Linked DNA regions of Homo sapiens: region 2 is linked to region 1. Evidence: promoter capture Hi-C in 16 types of primary human blood cells and fetal thymus (Javierre and others, 2016). All regions are on one chromosome and are shown on one strand. The core of a region is centred on a gene start or on the middle of the fragment in contact, and the rest is flanking DNA. Distances in the headings are between cores, read along the strand shown.

Evidence for each region. Contacts are between HindIII fragments. The CHiCAGO score rates a contact against its expected background, and 5 or more counts as called.
Region 2: a fragment that was not itself captured here is called in contact with the fragment with the promoter of CDR2L in region 1 in 3 of 17 cell types (naive CD8 T cells, naive CD4 T cells and total CD8 T cells); the score reaches 6.4 in naive CD8 T cells.

The regions. Positions count from the first base shown.
Region 1 is chr17:74,985,809-74,989,101 of GRCh38, forward strand. CDR2L (cerebellar degeneration related protein 2 like) reads left to right here and starts at 1,824. Exons shown (of 5, transcript NM_014603.3): 1 at 1,824-2,314. The coding sequence starts at 2,236. RefSeq lists an enhancer at 1,662-2,163 and silencers at 1,730-1,809, 1,830-1,919. The HindIII fragment of the contact is 10,272 bases long and covers 1-3,293 here.
Region 2 is chr17:75,136,249-75,139,541 of GRCh38, forward strand. It overlaps JPT1 (Jupiter microtubule associated homolog 1), which reads right to left. Exons shown (of 5, transcript NM_016185.4): 5 at 1-2. LOC107985034 (a long non-coding RNA gene) reads left to right here and starts at 2. Exons shown (of 2, transcript XR_007065907.1): 1 at 2-3,293. The HindIII fragment of the contact is 1,866 bases long and covers 848-2,713 here.

The DNA.
Region 1 (3,293 bases), core at 574-3,073:
AGGTTCAAGCAATTCTCCTGCCTCAGCCTCCCAAGTAGCTAGGACTACAGGCATGTGCCACCATGCCCAGCTAATTTTGTATTTTTAGTAGAGACAGGGTTTCACCATGTTTCCCAGGCTGGTCTTGAACTCCTGACCTCAAGCGATCCACCCTCCTTGGCCTTCCAAAGCGTTGGGAATTACAGGCATGAGCCACCACGCCCGGGCAGTTTTCTAAAGTGGTTGTCGTCCTATGTATTCCCTCCAGCAGGGTGAGAGAGTTCCAGTTGCTCAACATTCTTGCCAATACTAGGTATTTTTTGTCTTTTTTTTTTTTTTTTTTTTTTTTTTTTTGAGACAGGATCTTGCTCTGTCACCCAGGCTGGAGTGCAGTGGCATGACCACAGCTCCCTACAGCCTCAACCTCCTAGACTCAAGCAATTCTCCCACCTCAGCCTCCCAAAGTATCTGGGACTACAGCCGTGTGTCATTATGCCCACCTAATTTTTATTTTTAAATTTTTTTATAGAAATAGGATCTTGCTATGTTGCCCAGGCTGCTCTTGAACTCCAGGCTCAAGTGATCCTCCCAACCTCGGCCTCCCCAGAGTTCTGGGATTATAGGCATGAACCACCACGCCTGGCCTTTTTTTTTTTTTTTTTTTTCCCTAAAGCCACTCTGGTGATTGGGTAGTGATACCTCATTGTGGTTTTCATTTGCATTTTTCTGATGGCTAAAGAAGTTCAGTACCTTGTTGCATATTTATTCAGTTATTTGTGTATCCTTTTTTGTGAATTACCTGGTCAAATCTTTTACCCACTTTTCTACTGGGTTGCGTGCCTTTTTCTTATGACTATGCAGATGTTCTTTCTGTATTCTGGATACAAGTCATTCGTTGGGTATATCACAACATTATTCAGAGATTCTCAACGGCACCAGCACATTAGGGTCCCAATAAAAATGAGTTACGTGAATGCTTGAGTCCGAACACTCTTCTAAGGAAAGAATGCTTGGACAGATGCAAGTGTGTATAGTTTTAATGGGTATAATTGGATATAGGATATGGGTCCCAAGGAAAGGAAAACAGAACCTTGAATGCAGGTAACACACCCTCAAACTTTGCCACTTTCAGCCTGTGGTTTCTAGCCACAAGCACTTAAACACGCAGTTCCCAAAGGCAACTGTAAATTAGTATTCATTCATTCAAAGAATGTCGATGGAAGGTATCAATGACCAGCATGTTGTTTGTTTTTTGTTTGTTTGTTTTTTGAGGCAGAGTCTCCCTCTGTCGCCCAGGCTGGAGTGCAGTGGCGCTATCTTGGCTCACTGCAACCTCTGCCTCCAGGGTTCAAGCGATTCTCCTGCCTCAGCCTCCCGAGTAGGCATGCGCCACCATGCCCAGCTAATTTTTGTATTTTTAATGGAGACGGGGTTTCGCCATGTTGGCCAGGCTGGTCTCGAAACCCCTGACCTCAGGCGATCTGCCCGCCTTGGCCTCCCAAGGTGCTGGAATTACAGGAGTCAGGCATCGCGCCCGACTGGTGAGCAGCCTGTTCTAGGAAGTGAGTAGCCAGCTGTGAAAGAGAAACAATATTCTTGCTTCCAGGAGATCTAGGAGAGACGACAACTTCTAAAATAGCATAATTTTAGACATGAGACATAAACTGAATAGGTCGTAGGGGGAAGTAGGACGAAAGGGTTGATCAAGCAATTCCCAGACCAAGACACCAGGAGGGTCCCGCCCTCGGCCCCGCCTCCAGCTTTGCATACATCTCCTGATTGGTCGGCGGCGGCAGGCCCCACCCCGCGGAGCCGAGCTCCGCAAGCTGCAGGCGGGCTCCGCCAAGATGCAGCGGCGGCTCCGGTTGTCGCCGGGCGGGCCAGGAGCAGCGCGGACCCGAGCCGGGCAGGGGGCGCCCGCCACGGCACCCGCGCGCTCCTAGCGCCCCAGACCCGCCTGCGGGCCCGGATCCTCCTTGCCACTGTCCCACCCGCCGTCCCTGCCACTCCACCCTTTGTGTCGCCGCAGCCCGGTGCCCCCGGCTCTGCGGGACCCCGGCCGGGCCGGACCCTGGCAAAGCGCCAGGCCCCGCGTGGGCTCCCGGCGAGCGGTTGATGGCGAGGGGGCGCGGCGCGGGCTCTGTAGCCCGAGTTCCCGACGCTGGAGGCCCGGCCCGCCTCAGCCGCATTGTCCCGGGCCGCGCGCACCGGCCCTGAGCTGCGCCGCCGCAGCACCCGCCCGCCGCCCGCGGGGCCATGCGGAGAGCCGCCGGGATGGAGGACTTCTCCGCGGAGGAAGAGGAGTCCTGGTACGACCAGCAGGACCTGGAGCAGGGTGAGCGCGGGGGCGACCGGGACAGGAAGGCGGGGAGCGCCCGGTGACCCCTGTCCGCTTCTCCATTGTTGGGCGCTATCACCCCGGGAGGGGCTGGGCTGGACCGGGCGCGCCCGACTCGGAGGAGGGACGCGTCTGGAGAACCGGGACGTGGAGAGAGGGGGCGCTGCCGGAGAAGACGCGGACCGGACGGGCGGAGACCTGCAAAAGTGGGGGGCGGGGGGCGGTCTTCCTATTTTCCCAGACGACCGGGCATCCGTCATCCAGCTCGCCCACCCCGTCCTGGAGGCAGCAACTGCTCGGCCGCCCCTGGTATTGTTACGGGGCCTGAGCGCTAGCTAGGAGTCTTCTGAGGCCGGGAGGCGGCTCCTTCGTCATGTTTTGCTGGGAGGGTGGCTTGTGTGTAGAGGGAAGTTATCTCACGCCAAATCCAGCAGCACCCGTCCCTGACAGGAATTATGAGCTCTAAGACTCCTAGAAAGTTTCCCTAACTCGCTTCCTACTCAGGGAGAAGTGGTACCGCGTCTTTGCTGGTGAAGAAGCAGAAAGTCAAGTCTCCCATCTGCCTTCGAGAGTCAGGAGTCGCTTAGCCCTCCCCTGCCCGGTCCCCTTGCAAATGGCTCATGGTTTGGAGGGGGTCAGGTTCGGGAATCCCGGCCAGTGTGCCAGGCGAGAGACCGAATAAAGAGGGATACATCTCCGCTGCCCCCAGTTGCCATCTGAGGACAGAAAGGGCGACTGGAAGGGGGTTAGAAGCTGGTGATGAGGTGGCCGAAATGACATCACTGGGAGTGGGGGGTGGGGCTGTTGGGACAGAAAGGAAGAGGAGGCCTGCTGGAGTGGAGTCAGTTCTATCCTCTCCTCCCCTAAGATGCCTCCTTCTTGGATGGTGAGAGCTGGAAGGGGCGAGGAAACATGTCCAGGGAGAAGTGACCTTCCCATGGCCTCCAGCAAGCTGGGGGGTGTGGACATAAGTCTG
Region 2 (3,293 bases), core at 531-3,030, 150 kb after region 1:
TTCTATGAAAACAGGGAATAGAAATAATACTCATAATGACAGCCATTTCCTGTTAAGATCAAGGATCTGTTTCTCTTTTTCTTTTTTTTTTGGTTTGATGGTTGGAAACATACCTAAAAGCATAAACAAAATAATCACCCACCATGCTCCCACTCCACAGAATTAACCATTGTTCATCTTTTCCCATATTTGTTGTTTATGTTCTTTTCTAAATTACACAAATATATAAGGACATGAAGTTTTTTTTTGTTTTGTTTTGTTTTTTGACGGAGTCTCGCTGTTGCCCAGGCTGGAGTGCAATGGTGCAGTCTTGGCTCACTGCAACCTCCACTTCCCAGGTTCAAGCAATTCTCCTGCCTCAGCCTCTCTAGTAGCTGGGATTACAGGCGCCTGCCGCCATGCCCGGCTAATTCTTGTATTTTTAGTACAGATGGGGTTTCACCATCCTGGCCAAGCTGGTCTTGAATTCATGACCTTGTGATCCACCTGCCTCGGCCTCCCAAAGTGCTGGGATTACAGGCGTGAGCCACCGCGCCTGGCCCAAGGACATGAAGATTTTTAAATAAGAACAGGGAACTCTAGCTCTACGGCCCCTTCCAGCTCCGGGTGGATCCTGCTCCCCCTATTCCCAGAGGTCCCACTGCAAGTCCTGTGCAGCCTTCTAGTCCACTTGTTTTATGTATATTTACATGTAGCCAGATAACATGTAACATGTTTTGGTTATATTTAACATAAATGGTATCAACTTCTTTTTTTCACTCTTGGAAATGTATCCATATTTACAAACAGGGTAGTAATTCGCCTTGCTTATTAACTGTATGTTTTCAAATCCCTCACCTCACTGTCAAGCTTCATTGCTTTATAGTAATTATCACATGATATAGGCTATTTATCCAATTCTCTGACAGCAAAAAAACTGGAACCCATCCAATTTTCCAAATGAATTGTCTCTCATTAGGGTTGTTTCTAAACCGGGAAAAAACTGATTCAAAGTGCAAAGTGAATGCAAAAATTCTATATTTTCTATGAAAGGAAACTTTTACTAAGAGCTTAATAGTATACATATTTTTAGTTTTTTTGTTTGTTTGTTTTTTGTGGAGGGGTGGGGTGGCAGGTGGAGGATATTGAGACAGGGTCTCACTCTGTGGCCCAGGCTGGAGTGCAGTACCTCAATCACAGCCCACTGTAGCCTCAAACTCCTGGGCTCAAGCAATCCTCCTATATCAGTCTCCCAAATAGCTGGGACTACAGGCGCGCACCACCACAACTGGCTATTTTTGTTTTTTTTTTTTTTTTATTTTTAAAAGATGGGGTCTCCTTATGTTACCCAGGCTGGTCTCAAATTCCTGGACTCAAGTGATCCTCCCATCTCACCCTCCCTAAGTGCTGGGATCACAGGCATGAGCCACCTTCACCCTTCACACAGCCTAGTTTTCCTTTTTTTTTTTTTTTTTTTTTTTTTTTGAGACAGGGTCTTTAACCTCTGCCTCCTGGGTTCAAGCAATTCTCCTGCCTCAGCCTCCCGAGTAGCTGGAATTACAGGCATGCACCACCATGCCTGATTAATTTTTGTATTTTTAGTAGAGACGGGGTTTCGCCATGTTGGCCAGGCTGGTCTCAAACTCCTGGCCTCAAGTGAGCCACCTACCTTGGCCTCCCAAAGTGCTGGGATTACAGGCATTAAGCCACTGCACCCGGCCTAGTTTTCCTTTTTTTTCTTTAGTTGAGATGGAGTTTCACACATGTTGTCCAGGCTAGAGTGCAACAGTGCAATTTCGGCTCACTGCAACCTGTGCCTCCCGGGTTCAAGCAATTCTCCTGCCTCAGCATCCCAAGTAAGTAGCTGGGATTATAGGTGCCCGCTACAACGCCCGACTAATTTTTTGTATTTTTAGTAGAGACAGGGTTTCACCATGTTGGCCTGGCTGGTCTTAAACTCCTGACCTCAGGTGATCCAACCTGCCTTGGCCTCCCAAGGTGCTGGGATTACAGGCGTGAGCCTCCATACTGGGCCTTAGTTTTCTTTTTAATAGCAAGTTTATTTCAGTGTTAACCAATCAAATTCAGTTGCATATTCTAAGATATTCGTAAAAATATTTCATAGAATCCCTTTTGCCTGAAAAGGCAGTAAGGGCAGTTAATAATGCTCCTATATTAATGGATTTTTTTTTTTTTTTTGAGACTGTGTCTCATTCCATCGCCCAGACTGGAGTAAAGTAGCGTGATCCTGGCCCACCACAACCTCCGCCTCCCAGGCTCAAGCGATTCTCCTGCCTCAGCCTCCCAATAGCTGGGGTTATAGGCGCCCGCCACCATGCCCAGCTAATTTTTTGTATTTTTGTAGAGACCAGGTTTCACCATGTTGGCCAGGCTTGTCTCAACCTCCTGACCGCAAGTGATCCACCCACCTCAGCTGCCCAAAGTACTCAGATTACAGGCGTGAGCCACCATGCCCGGCCAAGAAGAGGTCTTTAACACTTACTCTCAATTCATGTACTTATCTCATGATAGGCTAGAAGCAAACAAACCTCCCTCTTCTGTGGCTGCAGTATTTCTCATTGGACAGACATTTATTTTATTTATTTATTTTTCATGCTTTGTTAATGTTAACATACTACTGCTGCTTTTAACATTTCATGAATTTCTGGAACATTCTATGGGAGTAACATAAAATGTTCTATACTATTTAACTACAAGCAAAAATAGAGTATGAAGCTTTTCAGAATGACAACTGTCACAATTATGAACTAAAACTCAGAGAGGGTCACCCATTAGTTTCCTTGGTTACATCCATTGTAAAAGAAGCAAGATCAAATGCACTGGATCAGACACACAAGTCCTACAATAAGTGTCCCTGAAATAACCTAAATATAATTGTAAATATAAAAGAAAAACAAAACTCCACATTTAAAATATTCAAGATAAAGAGAATTCGGACTGAGACAACTTGTTAGTTCAAGCAGTTTCATTTCTGCTGGTGGGACATGGCCTCCTGCTATACATACAGGATCTACTGAAGTCTTCATTCTCTCTCTGAATCCAGCAGTTAATGAACATTCTGAAGAACAAAAAATTATCTTGCAGTCCTGCCATAGTGGTTTATTTTCATAAAATCCTCTTCAGATGAATCAAGCTCAATACTACTAATCTTATATTTGTCTTACATTATTACTAGAACTGTTTTGTTTTTCACAAATACATAACATACTAATAAAGAAGAAGAAAAAAATAAAAAAGCACCTATGGAGACTAAACAAGCAGCAGTAGGCCTTACTTTAAATGTCTGTCCAGGC